Regions from separate parts of the Homo sapiens genome. Here all the other regions are linked to region 6. The links are contacts of gene promoters, found by promoter capture Hi-C in blood cells and fetal thymus (Javierre and others, 2016). All regions are on one chromosome and are shown on one strand. The core of a region is centred on a gene start or on the middle of the fragment in contact, and the rest is flanking DNA. Distances in the headings are between cores, read along the strand shown. Region 1 overlaps SDK1 (sidekick cell adhesion molecule 1). Region 2 holds the start of GNA12 (G protein subunit alpha 12). Region 3 overlaps SDK1 (sidekick cell adhesion molecule 1). Region 4 overlaps SDK1 (sidekick cell adhesion molecule 1). Region 5 has its middle 26 kb from the start of GNA12. Region 6 holds the start of SDK1 (sidekick cell adhesion molecule 1). Region 7 overlaps SDK1 (sidekick cell adhesion molecule 1).

What was found. Contacts are between HindIII fragments. The CHiCAGO score rates a contact against its expected background, and 5 or more counts as called.
Region 1: a fragment that was not itself captured here is called in contact with the fragment with the promoter of SDK1 in region 6 in 5 of 17 cell types (non-activated CD4 T cells, total CD8 T cells, activated CD4 T cells and 2 more); the score reaches 10.3 in non-activated CD4 T cells.
Region 2: the fragment with the promoter of GNA12 here is called in contact with the fragment with the promoter of SDK1 in region 6 in 1 of 17 cell types (fetal thymus); the score reaches 5.8 in fetal thymus.
Region 3: a contact is called between a fragment that was not itself captured here and the fragment with the promoter of SDK1 in region 6, in 1 of 17 cell types (activated CD4 T cells). The highest score is 5.1, in activated CD4 T cells.
Region 4: a contact is called between a fragment that was not itself captured here and the fragment with the promoter of SDK1 in region 6, in 1 of 17 cell types (activated CD4 T cells). The highest score is 5.2, in activated CD4 T cells.
Region 5: a contact is called between a fragment that was not itself captured here and the fragment with the promoter of SDK1 in region 6, in 1 of 17 cell types (fetal thymus). The highest score is 5.0, in fetal thymus.
Region 7: a contact is called between a fragment that was not itself captured here and the fragment with the promoter of SDK1 in region 6, in 1 of 17 cell types (activated CD4 T cells). The highest score is 5.6, in activated CD4 T cells.

What each region holds. Positions count from the first base shown.
Region 1 is chr7:3,670,832-3,673,531 of GRCh38, forward strand. The region is part of intron 4 of SDK1 (sidekick cell adhesion molecule 1); the gene reads left to right. Among named protein-coding and RNA genes, the nearest start is that of SDK1-AS1, 320 kb to the left of the region's middle. The HindIII fragment of the contact is 1,857 bases long and covers 451-2,307 here.
Region 2 is chr7:2,842,930-2,845,629 of GRCh38, forward strand. It overlaps GNA12 (G protein subunit alpha 12), which reads right to left and starts at 1,379. Exons shown (of 4, transcript NM_007353.3): 1 at 924-1,379. The coding sequence starts at 1,232. RefSeq lists enhancers at 686-1,503, 1,466-1,760, 1,743-1,872 and silencers at 853-902, 1,243-1,572. The HindIII fragment of the contact is 20,086 bases long and covers 1-2,567 here.
Region 3 is chr7:3,740,613-3,743,312 of GRCh38, forward strand. The region is part of intron 4 of SDK1 (sidekick cell adhesion molecule 1); the gene reads left to right. Among named protein-coding and RNA genes, the nearest start is that of SDK1-AS1, 390 kb to the left of the region's middle. The HindIII fragment of the contact is 1,187 bases long and covers 831-2,017 here.
Region 4 is chr7:3,714,219-3,716,918 of GRCh38, forward strand. The region is part of intron 4 of SDK1 (sidekick cell adhesion molecule 1); the gene reads left to right. Among named protein-coding and RNA genes, the nearest start is that of SDK1-AS1, 360 kb to the left of the region's middle. The HindIII fragment of the contact is 1,417 bases long and covers 615-2,031 here.
Region 5 is chr7:2,869,371-2,872,070 of GRCh38, forward strand. No RefSeq gene overlaps it. Among named protein-coding and RNA genes, the nearest start is that of GNA12, 26 kb to the left of the region's middle. RefSeq lists silencers at 76-280, 1,228-1,447 and an enhancer at 2,254-2,700. The HindIII fragment of the contact is 7,417 bases long and covers 1-2,700 here.
Region 6 is chr7:3,299,826-3,302,525 of GRCh38, forward strand. SDK1 (sidekick cell adhesion molecule 1) reads left to right here and starts at 1,427. Exons shown (of 45, transcript NM_152744.4): 1 at 1,427-2,059. The coding sequence starts at 1,762. It overlaps SDK1-AS1 (SDK1 antisense RNA 1), which reads right to left. Exons shown (of 3, transcript XR_001744897.3): 1 at 2,404-2,700. RefSeq lists enhancers at 1-506, 507-1,018, 1,728-2,228 and a silencer at 904-1,453. The HindIII fragment of the contact is 8,975 bases long and covers 1-2,700 here.
Region 7 is chr7:3,690,422-3,693,121 of GRCh38, forward strand. The region is part of intron 4 of SDK1 (sidekick cell adhesion molecule 1); the gene reads left to right. Among named protein-coding and RNA genes, the nearest start is that of SDK1-AS1, 340 kb to the left of the region's middle. The HindIII fragment of the contact is 1,392 bases long and covers 683-2,074 here.

The DNA of each region.
Region 1 (2,700 bases), core at 129-2,628, 370 kb after region 6:
TCCCCTTTTACTACTGGTTTGTGAAATAAATTAGATGATCACCCTTTTGTGCTCAGTTCAAGAGTAACCTTTTTTAGGAAACCTTCTTTGATTCCTACAAGGACAGGTCGTCTATTATTTGTTCTTACAGCACATCCTGTAACTTTTTTTTGCCATAGTTACCACGATTACAGTTAAAACAGTTCATTGCATAACTAGTTCCTTGAGGTTTGTTTCTCCTATTGGGCTCTAGGCCCTTGGAGGACTGGGACCTCAAGGCGGGGGGTGTCTTGCCTTACCCCTGAGTTTTCAGCATTGGTCTTATCCAAGTCATTACTCAGTATATTTAGAGGAGACAAGAAACACTGAACAGGATCTGGTTTGGACTTCGTGTCTGTTTCTGACTTTAAATGTCAAGTCACTTCCTCTCACTGTCTCTTCATTTCTTCATCTTGTAAATTCAGAAAATTAAGCTTAATGTTCTCTAGAATTCCATCGGCCTCTACATTGTGTGAGTCTAGCCCATCAGGGACATTTTTTAAACCAATTTTTAAATATTTATAGTCACAAATTTAAGAAGGAAATGGAATCAATGTACATCTCCCCAAAGACAGAGTAAAATACTTTGTTGCTCATTGAATGAAGCTCTGGTCATTACCCTTTTTGTTATTATGATTCCTAATTTGTAAGCTCTGATGTTATCCCTTCTTTCTCAATATAGCTGAGACAAATGTGTAGTCTGTATGATCATATCATTGCTGTTATACCTATTTACAAGTTTAAGACTGAGTCAATAGAAAAAAATCCAAGTGAAGAGTGTTTAAAATAAACTTGTGTTTCTCCAGGAAGTTAACTAATCAAACACTTTTCATTGTAGATGTTGTCATTCAGTACAAAATAATCCCTGAGACAGTCTCATGAAAAACCTAATGCATTTTTTGGTGAGTTTTATAATGAGATTAAAAAGAAATTAAGAGCAGGAAGTGAAATTATAACGCCAGTGGGAAATCTTTGAAACCATTTTATAGTTTTTTCCTTCTTATGTAATATGTCTGTGAGATTGGGCAGGTTTTTGTTTGCTTGCTTGCTTATTGTTTGTGTTTATAATGTGGAGGAATCAGCTGAACTTGACTTATCCCTTTACAACTGATCCATGCCTACACAGTAGTTGCTTGGAGCTAAAAGCAGGAACACATGGACCCTGAGGCATAGCTGCTCTGAAGTCCTGGCGGCCTCTGGGAGGGCTTATCCATGATATGGGACACAGGGTCTCCTGAGGTCTTGGAGGAGTTTTCCTGGTAACTCTGAGGAGTGGCGGGTCATGGTGTGGTGACCATTGGTCTAACCTGAAGGACTATAGGAATGAGGGCAGGGAGAATTGTAGGGAGGCAGCCGATGCTGCTGGTGAGAATGAAAACATCCTCAGAGTGGCTTCCATACCCATCCTGTTTCTGTAGTGCCCAGTTATTGTGAATACCCATCACACGTTATTCTATCACAGCAAGCAGCTCATCTACCCTACTGCACCCCCAAGTTCTTGAAGTGTCTCTCTGTTTCTTGCCGTTACTGGAGGTAAGCCAACATGAAAGATGAAAGCTGTGTTTATACTTCTACTGCAAACTCTTGAGGAAAAAAACAGAGGCATTAGCCAAAAGAGATAGGACATACAGGCAAAGAAGAAAGATGAGCTGGAAACCAGTACCTAAATAAGTCCAAAAGCAATCTATTTATAGATCCCAGAGTGAGATCGATAAAGGAGATGATGTGGAGAAATATATATATATAATATATATATTTATATAATATAATATATAATAATATATATTAAATATATATTAAATAAATATTAAATTTATATATAAATTTGTTATTAAATAAAATTTATATTAAATAAAAATTAAATTTATATTAAATAAAAATGTAATATATATTTTTATAATATATAATTTTATATATATATATATATATATATATATATATATATAAAAAATACAGAAAGCTCTAAGTATGCACAGATCACACTTTTGCCAAAATAGGCACCTACAATGAGGGCCCCATCCCCACCCTTGAGGGTTTGGAGTGATCTTTGGGTAAAAGCTCTATTCTAACTCTTGAAATGGTTAAACTTTTTCTAGATGCATCTTTTAATATTACTTCCTCTTTTATTCCTTTTTTCTATTTTTTTTAAATAAGCATCTTTGCTTTACTTCTTTTAGCTATGAAGCAGCTCTTGCTGATAGTAAATAAATACTTAAAGTATGAAGATACTTCCTTGTAGCATTTGACCAATTTGTAAGGCAGCGGTTCCTCAATTTCAGTGATGCACCAAGCTTTTCCGAAAATGAGTTCCAAAGGGAATTGATTTTTATCTGCAATACTCTCATCCTACAGACAGGATATTGACTACACTTGATAGAATGGAAGTGTAAATCCAGAATGAAGCATTGCAGGAACAAATCCCATGGGGGCGGTTCATGATCAACAGAATCATTCATTGGACGGAAAGATCGGAGAGCTAGACAGTGTCAATAGAGACAAAAGGGGAAATAAAAGCATTCATTTCCTGAAAGAGTCTTTTCCTGGAAGGTTTTTGTTGACTGGCTCTTCCTTTTAGTATACTCTCTATTCCTAGTTGTTTATCAGCTTATGTGAGAACCTTAAAACTCATAATCATTTATAATCAATGTTTAAACATGGAAAAATAAAAGTACATACCATAGG
Region 2 (2,700 bases), core at 129-2,628, 460 kb before region 6:
TGCTTTAGTTGGGCTGTAGGTACTTTACAGTCAATCTACTATTTTCTCTACTTTTGTATACATTTGAAGTTTTCGTATTAGAAAGTGTGGCTCACACCTGTAATCTCAGCACTTTGGGAGGCCCAGGTGGGAGGATGGCTTGAGACCAGCCTGGGCAAGAGAGTGAGAGCCTTTCTAAAAAAACAGAAAAGTAAAAAGAGACTCATGGCTGGTTCCCGTCCAGTCTCCACTGCTCTTCTTCTAAGCTCAGCCGGAGGGCACGGCCGGTTGGGCTCCTATCCCACAAATCTTCCAGTGGGAAATGGACAGATACCATTCTGCTAGGGCACATCCAGGAGGGGGCTAAGTGCCAAGCCCCCACTCCCCATCCCCAGAAGCTGGCCCGAGTTCCCACTCCCACGGTCCCCAGGCACCCTAGAGAGGGCAGAGGCAGACCGGGCGCCATGACTCATGCCTATAATCCCAGCACTTGAGGGAGACCAAGGCAGGAGGATCACTTGAGGCCAGGAGACTGAGACCAGCCTGGGCAACACAGCAAGACCCCATCTCTACAAAAAAAAACTTAAAAATTAGCTGGGCTGGTGGTGCGCGCCTGTAATCCCACTACTTCGGGAGGCTAAGGAGGGAGTAGGGCTTGAGCCTGGGAGGTCGAGGCTGCAGTGAGCTGTGAGGGCGCCACTGCACTCAAGCCTGGGAAACACAGCGAGACCCCATCTCAAAAAGGGCGAGACGGGGTGGGGCAGAGACGACGCCAGCAGGCCTCGGGGAATGGGTCGGGGGGGAGTGGGGTGCAGGCGGGGCTGGATCCAGCATCCTCGCCCCAGGGGTCCCCGCCCGCGGCGGCGGACCACGGAGGGGCCCGGGGCGGGGGTTAGCGCCCCGGCCCACCTGGGTGCAGGTGCTGGGCGGGGGGCGCGCGTCACCTTGAGGATGTTGTCGAAGATGGTGTCGCGGAACTCCAGCAGCGCCTTCTGGTCGAACTCGCGGCCGTGGATGATGCGCATCTGCTTGAGGAACGTGGACTTGCCGCTCTCGCCCGCGCCCAGCAGCAGGATCTTCACCAGGCGCCGGACCGCGCGCCGCTCGCGGGCCAGCAGCGCGTCGATGTCGCGGCTACGCCTCCGGGCCTCGCGCTCCGCGTCGCGCGCGCCGCTGCCCGCCCTGCGCTCGCGGGCCCCGCCGGCCTCGGCCGGCAGCAGGCAGCGGCTGAGGGTCCGCACCACCCCGGACATGGCCCCTCAGGCCGCGGCCGCGCCCCGCCGGCGCCCGGGGGCCATGGACGCTCCCGCCGGCGAGGGCGAGCCCGGGCCGAGGCACCGCCCCACGCCCCGCCGCTCGCCTCAGGCCGCGTCCGCCGCCGCCGCTGCAGTCGCTCCGAGGCCCGCACTCGTCGCCCGGCCGCCACTCGGGCCCGGCGGAGGGGCGGGCGGCGCCGCGTGAGGCCCGGCGGATTGGGCCGGCTGCCGTCCATCTGGCCGTGAGAGCCCTTCGATTGGCTCATCTCGCCAAGGGAGGCGGGCATCCCTTCCGGCCTCGGGGCGGGGTCGACGCCGAAAGAGGCGGGATCTTTGAGGTGAAGGCGCTTCTCATTGGACGCCCAGGCTGAGGTTCTTTCTTTCAGAATGAAAGGGAGGCGGGGTCGCCCGGGAGGCGGAGCGATCGTCCGCCATGGCCAATTATAATTGCTCTGAGTGGACATCAGACGTGCCCAACGGGCTTTGGATTGGGTGTTCGGGGGACGGGGCGTGACGAGAAGTGCCAGGTGTACAGAAAGATTCTCCCTTGGTTCCCAGATTGGGTCCGCCTGTGAGACCAGGACCTCGCGGAGTAGCCCAAAGGCTGGGAAATGCTGATAAGAGGTTCAGCTGCTCGTCGTATTCCCTCCGATGATCTTGTTTCTACACTATTTTCCTTCCAGAAACACTGGAGGGGGATGGGCCATAAATTTCAAACACATGCACCCTTTGAGAGTGGCATGGGCTTCTAGGAGGCTTTGCGAAAAGCTGACTAATCACTAAAATCACCAGAAGCTCCCCCAAAAGTCTTATGTCTCACAGTGATTGAGAGAGTGGGGTCTGGAGTTGCTGGGCCTGAGTTGGAATCTCCAGTCGACCAGTTACTAGGTGTACTAGTTGCATAACTTTTTTTAGCAGCTTTCCCCACCCCCCCCAACAAACCCTTTTGGATGTTCTTAGCTTCCGTTTCCTCATCTGTAAAACGGGGGTGTCATTGACGACATTGGTTATGGCTTGACATTGCTCAAATCGTCATGAAGATATAAACTGAGAACATGAACTTACCAAACACTTAGCACGTGAGCTAGCCCAAAATCAGCTCTTGATAGAGATCAGCTGATTACAGATTCTTGACTCTCCCAGATCTACTGAATCAGAACCTCCTAGAAGGAGCTCAGGTATCCCTTAAGATTAAAGGCGTGAGCCGCCGCGCCTGGCCCAGTGTGTAGTCTTTTATCTCTCGCCACCCCCCACCTTTTACCCTGAGTCCCCAAAGTCCAATCTCTGTGCGGTGTCTGTTAACTCTGCTGATTATTTCTTTTGCAGTGCCGAAGCTTTTTAGTTTAATTAAGTCCCATCTATTTATCTTTGTTTTTGTTGCATTTGCTTTTGGGTTCTTGGTCACAAAGTCTTTGCCTAAGCCAACGTCTAGAAGGATGTTTCCGATGTTATCTTCTAGAATGTT
Region 3 (2,700 bases), core at 174-2,673, 440 kb after region 6:
TTTTTCACAGCTCCTGTAGTTGCAAGACTGTTGGTTTTCAAGGGTCCTGTGGAACTAGTGGAAGGGGTATGGGAATAGGGCAAGTTAAAACACTTTATAGTTTGCTTATTCTTAACAAGATTCGTCTGTTTTTCTTGAATAAACAGTACTTAGATTGTTGCAAGCCTTTGATTAATTTTTAGAGTTCCAAAAATGTTGATTTCACAATTTTTGTCCATGTTCTCATTGATTTTATGAAGGAGATGATTTTCAGAGACTTTTATTCTGCCATTCCTGAGGTCCTTCTTTTCTCAGATGACATTTTGTGGTTCATAGCAACCATAGAAACATTCTGTAGTTCATCAGGTGTGGACACAGGGAAGGGTCACTTTGTATAGAAAGGCTATCAGGGACCTATCCTTGTGATTAATCTACCTGTTGCCTCCCTCTGGAGCCTCATGGAATGTGGTGTCTGTGGATTATAGAAAACTTGGCTTCCTTGGCCACATCTCCTTGAAAATTCCATCCTGCCACCTCCTGTATACCAAGTGGATGTGCTGAGCACTCTCTGAAGTGCTAAGAAATATGTCAGAGAGCTTGCTGGGACAGTCTTTCCCTCTAACCATGGGACTGGCCAGTGTGTTTTGAGTTTTTCCAGCCAATTTTTGGAGTAACCAAAACTTTAGGAAGGCCCTGTCAGCCCACCTCCCTCACTGGCACACTAAGCAGGAATCCCCAGCCCCCTGTTCTCCCAGCTCCCAGGGGATGCTCTTCATCTTTGCTCTGTGATCCTGCAGTGGTCTCCTTGTGTGGGAATCGTGCACCCCACTGGCCATGCCATATCTGTGTGAAGCTTATTTTAGCTGTCCTAATCAGAGCATGATTAAAACAATTGATTTTTAAAACTGTTGTGTATGTATTTTATCTGTGTTATTCTTGAATATTGGATTCATATTAAATAGTAGTTTGCCCTAATTAACTTTAATACTACAGATTTGTGCTTTTTGAACTCAGCATGCAGATTTATGTAAATTGCATAAAGCCTTTAAGCTAGGAGTGTATCATTTACATTTACAATCCCATTTATCCCATGTCTCCATATCACTGACTCTTCAAAGAAAGACAGGAACTATTGGGATGGACGTACTTGATTGTTTCAGTTTCACTCCTGTGCAAACCAAAGAACAAGTAGTAAATGACTTTTCCACATAAACACACACATTCACACACACACACATAGATGCTTGTGTGTATATACGTGTGTGTGGACCTATCTTTGGATGCTCATATATGTGCACTTAGAGAATCAAAAGCAATATCCAGGTATCTTGACCATAAGCCCAATACCCTGTCTATTTTTTTGAGTGGCAATTTGTGTTCCCATATTGTAGTGTGCATATATATATATATATATATATATATGCTGTATTTTTAAACTGATTTTAGAATTAGCGCTTAAAATAGAAAAGACAGAGCACAAATTTGGGGGGGGAGCAGTTTAAATTTTGTTTTCATACATCTGGTTGTATTAAATTCTCTGTTCCTCTTTTTTTTTTTACCCCCATTTCTTTGCCCTTCTTTCTTCCCTTTCCTCCCCAATGTTTTCCGTATCTCTGGCAAAGTTCATGACATAAAGGGCTGTAAGAGATCAGATTATGTTACCCCAAAACACACCACTCTGGCATACAGATTACATTGAGCTGAAAACAGTTAAGAAAAAGACACAAGATGAGCTCTCTGCCTTTTCCCGTCTGCCTGAAACATAAAATTTTCCTTGTGAACGTGTTCCTCCCAGCTCTACTTCCGGTAAGGAGAATTTCCCAGAAAAGGAGTAACAGCCTCATTACTGGAGATGAGAGGACACCAGAAAGGGCTTACACAAACCAGCCCTAGGAGCCAGCCATCATCTCCCATCAGTTTCTCCCGACATTTGCATATTTGCCTTCATACAGTCTGCCACCCCTAGAAGTTCAAAGTCCATTTCCTTTGCCATGTCACTTCTCTTTAGCATTTTTGTCTTTTTTCCAAATAGTATAAAAGCTTCCAAGCACAGCCATTCTTATGAAGTCCTCCTCCCACCCCTTTCTGTGTAAAACTTTTAACACCAAATAAAATTATATACTTTTTATTCCCTGTTTGTCTGCCTGTTGTCAGTTTATTTCACAGACCCAGTCACAGAACCAAAGAGGGTGGAGGAAAGTTTTTCCTTTCCTACAAGGTCAGTGTCCTTTTGGATAGAGGTCGAATGGATCGGTTATTGGAAAAGAAACCCACAGAGAAATATGTTAGAAAGGAATTTTTGCAAGCAAAGAACCAAACAAACAAATAGCAAATTGTACGTCATCAGTGGAGACTGGTTTTCTACCAGATGAATGACCCTCATTAACATGAGGAAGCATGTATGGATATTCAGTACACATGGTCCTACTTATTGATAGGCATGAATTTGATTGTACGGAACTTTCCTGGAGCAATGTACGTGTTGTGTGTCAGGAAAGGCTCTGTTCAGGAATGCGATAGGCCTTGGGTGCCTTGAATGGGAGAGTAATACGTAAGCAGACCAACTGATGGGAAAAGTCTCAATATAGAGGTAAGAGAGGGTGGGGAGACTCATGTGAGGGGTAGTTTAAAAGAGGCAGTCTGTTAAGCTTATGCCTGGACGTAAATAGCAGATGAATTTGGAGTTAGAAGAAGTTTCTTGGCTTTCTTGGTGAGGTTTGA
Region 4 (2,700 bases), core at 73-2,572, 410 kb after region 6:
ATAGACCAGGAGGTAGAGGCCTTGATCACTCCTTGTGTAGCCAGACCCGTTGCTTAAAATCTCTGAACTTCCTTATTGTAAAATATGAAGGAAAATCATTACTATTCTTAGAATTAAATATTTGTGAAAGGAGCTTTAGAATGATAGAAGTACCATAGGGATGTTATTATCTTTTTTACTCTCTTTTCAACCTGTCAATTACCTGTTTAAATATGAACTAGTTATTCGCCCTTCCAGAGTCTCAGTTTCCTCTTAAATTAAGAATAATAAGTTTATCCCATTTGCTCATTTCACATCAGTCCTTTAAGTGCTTTGCATTTTGTTACATCTTATGTAAGTGGTGATATTAGCATTACTACATTGTAACACAGTACACAACATCTGAAAATGGTCCTGAGGCCTTCAAAGTTTAAATGTCGTTTAATACACTTTATTGAAGCAGGTACAGAACTGCTGTGTAATTAATTTCAAGACACTTATTTTCTCTCAAAAGTGCTTCTAAAACAAGTTTCCATGCTTGAAGCGTTGAGTGTCAAGTATCTGGGAGATTTGCTTTTGTAGGACGGTTCATTTCCCACTTGTGCCAGAATGAGTCATTTTGTGTGTAAGTGTCAAGCTTGGAGAGGTTCTAATTAAGTGCAAATTACAATGAAATTAATAAATGACACCAATTTTTAGATTTTAAAATGTGCTTTGAGAGAATGCAATGTGGGCTTAGATTGATGGTAATTCTCATATTTTAAGTTGTGATTCAATATTATGTAGCATTAAAACTCAATTAAGTAAAAAATAAATGAAGAATCAAGTAGAGAGAATACTCATCTCTCAGATGCCTCAGCTTCTCCAATGATGGCTTAAAATCTGTTAAATGCTAAGGTTGTAATTGTCCTTATTGTTCACTATATTCCAAAATAATTGCACATATAATTAGCTTATTTAGTGAGAGATACTAAATCACCCTGTTCACAAATATACTAGATCGTCATAAATTGTACAAATGTAATTGTAAATTTAAGGTTTTATTTTACTTTTTGCAGATGAGCTGCAGACTATATATAAATTCATGTATGTATCCACTTACCAGAAATTTTATTAAATCAAAATATATTTGACCCAGCATTTTCCGATCCGTTTACAGTGGGAGAAGGTAGGCTACGTAGGTTCTTCCCTCCTCAGGTGGCACTAGTCAAGACTGACAGAGCCACCAGCAACTGATAGCCCAAAGATATCCTCTCAGCCTACCGAACCAGACACCCCTCACCTTCTACCTGGTGATGCAGGGAAGCCCAGGGAAGTGCGTTCTGTCCCACAGGAGGCAATAGCAGGGATAGAGAAGGATCCCCAGACCCTACAGAACAAAGGAGACCAGGACAGCTCTGAAAAACACATTATCATTGGAACTACAGCCCAAAAAAGTAGGCAAAGTCCTATACCCTAAACCCATCAGGCAACTGCCATCTAAAATAAAAGATTTAAATAGGACAAGGAGTCTTAACATAATATCGAAAACGTCCACAGAGAATGGAAAATTACTGAACATACAAAGAACAAGGAAAAATCACAACTTGAATGAGAAGACACAATCAACTGAGGCCAAAATTGAAGTGAGTCAGCTGTTGCAATTACCAGACAAGGATTTTAAAGCAGCCATCATAAAAGGGCGTCAGCAGCAAACTATTCATTCTCCTTGAACAAATGAAGAAATAGAAAAATCTCAGCAAAGAAGAAGAAATTATTTAAAAAGTGAAAGTGAGTGAATTGAAACATTCCATAACCAGAATTAAAAACTAGCAGGATTAGCTCAGTAATAAAGTGGAGAAGACAAAGATAGATCGGTGAATATGAGGATAGATCAATAGAATTTGCTCAGTCTGACCAACAATGAAAAAGGTAGACAAAAAAAAAAAAAAAATGAACAGAGGCTCCTGTGAGGCTGTAACCAAAGATCTAACTTTAATTTTATTGGAGTTCTAGTAGGAGATGAGAAAGAAAATTGGGACTGAAAAAGCATTCAAAGAAATAATAGGTGAAAGCTTTCTAAATTGGGGGAAAAAAAAAACTCCACAAGCCTACAGATTCAAGAAGCTGAATGAATCACAATAGACCCTAAGAAATCAATTTGAAGACACTTAAACTTCTGTGTTGAAAATAAGTAATTTCTGAAAGCTAAGGAAAAATTAGAACTCTGAAAAAAATCTGTCAACCATGAATTCTGTATTTGGCAAAAATATCATTCAAGTATGAGGGGAGGCCACGTGTTATCACGTGTAATATCAGACCTGTAATCCCACCACTTTGAGGGACATTGATGAGGGAGGATTGCTTGAGGCCAGGAATTTGAGGCCAGCCTGGGCAAGGTAGTGAGACCCCATTGCTACAAACAAATCAAAAAATTAGCCAGGCGTGGTGCACACCCCTGTAGTCCCAGCTACTCAGGAGGCTGAGGTGGAGAACTGCTTGAGCCCAGGAGGTCAGTGCTGCAGTGAGCTATTACGGCGCCATTGCACTTCAGCCTGGGTGACAAAGTGAGACCCTGTCTCACCAAAAAAAAAGAAAAAAAAAAAAGAAAAAGGAAAAATCAAACTAAGGAAAAATCAGATAATGTGTTGCTATAATAGTTAAATGAGGTCCTCCAAACAGAAAGAAGAAAATGATCAGAGAAGAAGGCTTGCAACTACAGAAAAGAAAGAAGAACAAATA
Region 5 (2,700 bases), core at 141-2,640, 430 kb before region 6:
TAAAGAACTGCCTGAGACTGGGTGATTTATAAAGGAAAAGAGGTTGAATTGACTCACAGTTCAGCATGGCTGGGAGGCCTCAAGAAACTTACAATCATGATGGAAGGTGAAGAGGAAGCAAGGACCTTCTTCATAAAGTGGCAGGAGGGTGAAGTGCTGAGTGAAGCGGGAAGAGCCCCTTGTAAAACCATCAGATCTCCTGAAAACTCAGCCACTCTCACGAGAACAGCTTGGGGGAAATCTATCCCCGTGACTCAATGACCTCCACTTGGTCTCTCCCATGACTCAGTGGAGATTATGGGGATTACAGTTCAAGATGAGATTTGGGGCCGGGTGCGGTGGTTCACACCTGTAATCCCAGCACTTTGGGAGGCCGAAGTGGGCAGATCACTTGAGGTCAGGAGTTCGAGACCAGCCTGGCCAACATGGCGAAACCTTGTCTCTACTAAAAATACAAAAATTAGCCAGAAGTGATGGTGCGTGCCTGTAGTCCCAGCTACGTGGGAGGCTGTGGCAGGAGAATCGCTTGAACCCGAGAGGCAGAGGCTGCAGTGAGCCGAGATCACACCAGCCTGGGTGACAGAGCCAGACTCAGTCTCAAAGGAAAAAAAAAAAAGATGAGATTTGGGTGAGGCGCAAAGCCTCACCATATCAGTCTCCACCCAGGAGAGTCCACCCTGCCTGGAGGAGAAAGAGGGCGCTGGGCTGTGGTGGCCCCGTGTGTCCCAGTGGAGGGGTCTGTCTGCCATGGGCAGGAGTGCGCCCCCCCTGCACAGAGGGCTACAGCTCAGAGGCGAGGCGGGGATCGGACCTAGTGAGAGCTGAGCGCCTGGTCTGGGCCCTGTTGGGCTTGGTGAGCCACTCTGTGGCTTTTAGTGATACCTGAGCCAGCAGACCTTACCTCTGTGCGCCAGGGGTGCTTTGTGGGGTCCGATGCTGTTCACACCCTGCGTCCTCCCGTCCTGTCCGGGTCCCCCTTTCCCACGTGCACAAGGAGTGGCTGACGGTCTCCCAGGACTCCCCCACCACCCCCTACACACTCCACTTCAACTCTGCAAAGGCAGCACCCTTCCCTGGAGTGTGAGACCCTCCCTGCCTGCCCCTCTCTGCCTGAGCAGGACAGGAAGCTATTGAGCCCCTGTGAAGCTCTAGGCCAGGTGCCTGGAGTCAGCGATGAGTAAGAGGAGGCAGGGCCTGCAGCCCTCGGAGGCCCAGGACTTTAGGGAACTCATTAGAGAGACTCATTTCGTTACCTGTGTCACTTTGGTCATCTGGGAGGCAGACGTCAAGACAGAAGAAATGAGCAAGAGATTGATGAAACGCAATGCCCAAGCAGGATACAGGGAGAGGATGCAGGGTGGGCGGGGACCAACTTCCAACCGTGACGCAGGGCTTGTGTTTGCCAGAGGAGAAGAGGAAGGAAGGAGGGTTAAGTGGGAGGAGCCCCAGGCTGCAGTGCAGCTGTGAGAAAGTCCTCTCCAGGCCCACGGGGAGCTCTAGCAAGGTCCCGGGTGGGGCAGGAGCTGCCAGGCCCCAGGTGCTACTGCATTCCTGTGGAGGGTGACTCTGGGAGGGAAAGCAGAGCCGTGCACCTCCAGGGCCACCCCGACGGTGACACAAAGGCTGATGTGACACATGCATCAAAGCACTGACCAAATGCCGGGGCCGGTGGCTCACGCCTGTAATTCCAACACTTTGGGAGGCTGAGGCGGGTGGATCACCTGAGGTCAGGAGTTTGAGACCAGCGTGGCCAACATGGTGAAACCCCATCTCTACTAAAAATACACAAATTAGCAGGGCGTGGTGGTGCCTGCCTGCAGCCCCAGCCACGGGGAAGGCTGAGGCAGGAGGATCGCTTGGACCTGGGAGGCGGAGGTTGCAGTGAGATGAGATCGCACCACTGCACTCCATCCTAGGCAATGGACCGACCAAGGGACTGGGGTCAGGGAGCACCGACCAAGGGACTGGGGTCAGGGAGGCTTCCTGGAGAGGGCTGACACCTGAGACATTTCCAGTGTAAAGGAGATGGGGGCTGAGTGTCAGAGGCCAGGGCTTATGCAGGGCCCCGAGGTGGATCATCTCTCTGGGACTGGATGAGGACAGCATCACAGGCGCAAGTTGAGGGCAGGACTCATGGCTTGCGGGCGCAGTGAACGTGACATGGGCCAGGCTTGCAGAGCCCGAGGGTTGTATTTGGGACTCTGGTCCTGTGTCCCAGCCCACTTTGATTCCAGTGGGCAGACCAGCTCAACCCAAACCCCTGCCACTGGCTGAACGCTCCCTGGGGCCCTGGGTCTACCACCTGCCTTGGGAATGCTGCCTGAGCTCTCTCTCTCTGGCATTCTGACCACTCCTGCCAGATACAGCTCGATCTGTGCCTTTGTTCTAGCACTGATTTTTGTTCCTGCATGGAGAGCAGGCTTGCCTGTCTCCACAGTTAGGCTGGGGCCATGGTGGGAGGGGATCTGCTTATTCATTGCCTGATTATTCATTTTGAGGTCTGGTAGAGTGGGATTCTCAGGGAATGGGTGCCTGCCCCAGGATGAGGTTCAAGAACCTTCTCTCCAGTGCAAGGTTTGGAGAAGGTCCAGGTGAGCAGGGGTCTGGGGTCTGAGTCCAGAGTGACCCTAAGCCAGCAGCATCCCCCAAGAGCTTATTAGAAACACAGATACTCAGGCCTCAAGCCCAGACCTGTAGAAT
Region 6 (2,700 bases), core at 177-2,676:
GCCTCTCTGCCTCCAGTCTCATCCCCATGTCCTTGGGGAGCTGTCCTCTTCCGGCTCGTCCCATCTATGCGCCCTCACTATATCCTCAGAACAGGGCACTCCGTGGCTCCTTTAACTTTTTTGCCCCTCCTAGCATGGTGTGGAAAGGGGGCAGATGGGAGGCCTCTTTCTGAAACCACCTCCTGTTCGGCGGCTGTACTTGGACCTCAGTTTCCCTGTTTTGTTCACGTGGTCATTGTTAAGTCTTAGGGGACGTGTACAGAGGCTAATATTGAGCCACCAATCAGTTATTTGACAAATACCATAGGCGCTCTGTGAGCAGGAGCTGGCTCCTATCCCAGACCCCAGCCCTGTGACCTGCTCTCCACTCGCCCGGGGTCTTTCTTGGCTGGGACAATAAACCTACTGCATCAGGTGATTCCTGGGGAGTCAGCCCCGTGCTGGGCTCACACCCAGCCCCTCTGCGTTCATCTCTTACATGATCTCATGCGACCATCATCACACGTCCCCAGGCTCCTCCCGGGCCAACTCCAGAGGCAGTGCGTGTCACCTCCAGCTCTCCTCCCACAAAAATGCTGGCCTTTCAGCCTCCAGTGCGCTTAGTTCACCCCATAAACTCTGCTAATGCTTACCACATGCTGAGCGTCGGCGCCCGTCCCCACCCCCAGCCCCACAGGCTCCCGGGTCCCGCCCTGGGAGACCCTCCCACTGGCCGACCCTGCCCCAAGACTCGCCCACTCCACGGTGGGAAACCTGCAATGTGTCCCTCCCTACCCCGCCCTCCTCCAGCGCCGGCCAAAAGTGACCTTGGACGCTTCTACAATGCCATATCCACTCCTCTGAACAGGAGGCGAGTTTGCACCCAGTGGTGCCTTTGGTTGCTAGAAATTAAAAACCCGATTGCGCGTGTTTGCAATTACGGTAACTTGGCGCGTCACCCCCAAGCACTGAGCTAGCTGGTGGTAGCCGGGCGCCTCTCGGGGCGCGCCCTATTCCGCCCTCGGCCCTGGGCTGCCGCACGATCTGCGCGTCCTGCTGCACCTGAGCCCTTCCCACTCGGGCGCCCGCACCGCTGCGGGGCCGGGCGAGGATGCACCACCCCCGCCCGCGAGCCCGCCACGGGAGCGCGTGCCGAATCGACGCCGCCTGCAGTCCCCACTACGGGTCCCTAGGGGGCGCAGCCGGCGCGGGAAGCCGCCCGAGCCAGGCGCCGCGGCCGGCACAAAATTGCAGGCGGGCGGGCGCCGCGACTTTGAAAACAAGCGAGGGCCTGGGGGGCGGGCCCTGGGAGCGGGCGCCGCCTCCCTCGGCCAATCAACGGCGGGCGGCGGGCGGCGGGCGCGGGCGGCGCGTGCGGCCGGGCTGTGAATGGGGAGCGGCGGCCGCGGCAGCTGAGGGCGAGCGCGACCGCGACGTGCGGGCGGGCGCACTTTCTTCTCAGCGCCGGGCGGGGGCGGCGGCGGCGGCGGCTCCTCCGCGCCCGGCGGACCCCTCGGAGCTAGCGCGGCGGGCTCGGGACTGCGTGAGCGCCGGACGCGAATTTCCCCCGTTGACAACTTCTTCTCGCCCGGCTCGTCCCCGGCCCGCGCCGCGCCCCTCACGCGGGGACCCAGGACGCCGCCCCTCAGCGCTGGGCGGCCGCTCACCTCGGGCCGGGGGGCGCCGCGCCTCCCGCGGAGTGGCCGCGCCCGCTCGGAGCCGTCCCGCCTGTCCTGCCCGCCCGTCCGTCCGGCGCGGCGCTCGGGGTGGCGGCTGCTCGGCATGGCCCGGGGCGCCCGGCCCTCGGCGGCCGGTGGCGGCGGCGGCGGCGCGGAGCCCCCTGAGCGCGCGGGCCCCGGGCGGCCGCGGGGATCCCCGCCCGGCCGCGCCCGCCCCTCGCTGGCGCCGCGCCCCGGCCCGGAGCCCTCGCGACCCCGGGCGGCGCCCGAGACCTCCGGCGGGGACACGGCGGGCGCGGGGCGGTGCGGCGGGCGGCGGGCGGCAAAGTTGGGGCCGGGCCGCCGCGGCTGGTGGGCGCTGCTGGCGCTGCAGCTGCACTTGCTCCGGGCGCTGGCGCAAGGTAGGTGCGCGCGGGGTCGCGGGCCGGGGGCGTCGCCTCGGGGCGCGGAGGCGCGAACTTGAGCAGCGAGAGTGTGTCCGGGGTCCCCCCGCTTCCCGGCCCGGGTCGGGATGCGCCTTGCTGGGGGCTCTAGGGAGCCCAGGGGCTCCTCCACGCCAGACTCGGAGGAGAGGGAAACGGAGCCCCGTAGAGCCTGCACCCCGTCTGCTACTTTGCGTTTTATTTTTTTTATACCGCAGTAGCACAAACAAAAATTTTTAAGTTGAGGACCCATTTCTCAGCTCCTTAAAAGGATGCCCGAGTCCCCTTCCCATTGCATGGATGAAAAAGGGGCTGGTCTGTACCTGAGTCTTCGCACCGCAGGGTCTGGTTTCCGGTGAGTGACATCCAGAAGACTTGGAAATATCAAGTGCCAGTCGCTGTGAAAAGCCTTTTCCAGCCCCTCCCCAGGGCCTCGTCCTCTCCCCAGCCCCCGCCTGCTCCTGACTCCCCCAAGTCCCAAAGCCCGACCCCAAGTGGGTGCTGCGCGGCCGGTGGAGCAAAACTTTCAGTGCCCACAGCTTTTGCACTTGGCTTTGTTTTTCTCCCTCTATTGGCTTCTGTTTAGAATACAGTGGTGAGCTCTGAAATAGGGAAAGAGG
Region 7 (2,700 bases), core at 129-2,628, 390 kb after region 6:
AGTGGCAGGGATTTATCCTTTTATAATCCTTACATTGTTTCTCTTTCAAATTTTTCGTGTAGGGATTATAAAAATAAACCCACTGGATAGCTTGTACCTTTTGCTGGCATTTAGGATAAAGAGAAACCCAATAAATCTTGCGTCGAGTGGCCTCACTGATATTGATTGAATTATAAGATCATAGTATAGCTTTTACAGATAAGTCACCAGGAAGACATCACACAATGTTGTTTATAGAAAGTAAGAAAGCAGGTCTTCTTTTGTAAGATTCCATATTAATCTTAACCCCCGTAACATTATACTGATATATTTTTCAAGTTGATTATAACTCTCTACTACAAGGTCAAAATAAACCTTATATTAATAAAAACCATATGACTTGTCTTTAGACATCCAAGAAAATTTAAAAGTAATACTTTGCGTGTATATAAGAACTTTCATAATAGACAGTCTCAAAACACTTCAGAAATAAAATACACTCATATTATAGCCTGGATGTCTATAGGCATTCACTGGGCTAATGTTTCCTTCCAGGACTCTGTGACCTTCTAGAATTACTCAAAGACAGTGTGTTTGCCCTCACTGGTTGATTTTGTCCTTCAAAGAAAATTATTTGGAAGAAAAAATTTTCAACTTATTAGAGAAAAATACTCATTTCTCATTTTCTTATCATTTGACAGGAAGCTTACCAATTTATTGTAGATAATTACACCAATGTTTCATTCCTTAGAATCACCTTTCAACATGAATTCAAATGTATACGAAAAGCAATAGAGAATTCTGGACTTTAGATTTGCAAGAAATAAAAAGGCTCCAATTTTCTTAAGTTGTTATGATTACCACAGAGTAAAAAATGCCATAGAATGAAAATGTCTTATGTTGATAGGAAGAGGTCAGGGCTCTTACTCGAAGTACAAGATAAATCACAGGCTTAATTTTGGATCACAGTGGACCCCTCCCTCCACTTCAGCTGTGGAAATACAAAGAAAAGAGTTGCATTGAAGAAACAACTGGAGTCCAAGTAGCACTTTGCTTCCGTTACAGGACTTGGAGCATGTTATAAATGGCTCAAAAAGTAGGATACTCTCTCCCCTTTTCAGGGATCTGTATAAGGAGGCAGTCATATTCAAAATACAAAGTAGAAGATAAATGTTTTCTGCCGGCATGATATTTTAAAAGGAAAAATATGATTATCTACCATGATGCATTGTGAACTGATATTATTGATTTTTCCTCTTGTGACCTTGGTTGCACAGCACCAACACAAACACACACCCCTTGCTGGAAGGTCTAGTTTCAGGTGTGAATGCGTAGAAGTCAGAGATTTAAAAAATAGGGGGCTTGTAGTATTTGTTTTTGCCTTAATTAAGAGTTAATACTTGGCTTATCTACTTACTCATTCAGACAGCGTGGGTTGAAAATGTATTATAAGGCAGGTAATGTGAGGCAATGGGGGTGTCTTTAAGAAGGTAATAGCTTATCTGAGCCTTTTATCCTGCAGGATTCACTATGACCTTGCTTTTCCACTCCCCTCCCGCTGGGTCTTTCAGTCTGTCCCCCTTTATTTTTGCTTACTCATTCATGAGTATTCATTAAACTCCTACAATGTACCAGGCACTCAGAATATAGCTGTGAGCAAGACGGTTATGCTTCCTACTCTCATTTAGCTTATAATTGAGTTGGAAGACAGACATTAAGTAAATACTTATATTAATAATTTTATTGTAATTATGATTTCTGTTCAGAGACCCAACATAATTTCAAGTTTCCATTTTTTCTTAAAAAATTCTTTCTGATTCTAAAACTTTATAGACAACTAAGAAAAAAATAGGAATAAATCAGGAAAAAGTAACCTAAGATATCCCACCAGCCCAAAATAACTTGTTACTATTTAAAATGCTTTTTCTTGCACTTTTCTTTAGTGTGTATATGTGTGTGTCTGTGTGTGTGCACCTGTGCCCATGTGTATTTAGAATTTGGGATCATACTATATAGTTAGTTTTGCTATTCTCTTTAAATGATCATTAAACAGAGAGGATTTCTTATATTACATATTTTTCAATAACATATTTTAAGCTTGTTGAATAATTTGTATTTTAGTTATGTAGCATAAATTATTTGTTTATTTGGGTACATTTCAGTTATGTCCTTCAATTTTTGTGCTTATTTAAACTGATGTGATAAAAATATAAACTCTTGGCTACATGTTTTATTTAGTCTACTAGATAATCTAGAATTGGAATTACTTGGTCAAAGGGTATAAATATTTTTGAGGTGATTCATATATTTTATGAAACATTATAGAATATTTATACTCTTTGATCTATTCAATGTAATATACAATATGAAACATTCCCCTGTATTCTAGAATCGCATCGATTTATACATGCCTTCAAGTGGTATTTGTGTCGAGTTTACGTATCCTTGGCACCATCGAGTATTGCACTGGCAAATACATTTCTATTTTAATTATATATTAATATGATAGATAAAGGTAGCATCTTGGTAATTTAATATTTTCATTTATATATCATCCAGTAGTATTTCACGTGTGTACCTGTAATATTTGCCAGTTTTCTGTTGAGATGATAGCCTTTTTTACAAAATAAATGAACATATTTTAGACATATAATAAAATTTTAGATGCCATATTATATATTAATATGACTTAATATCTTATGTAATAGTGTAGACATATTT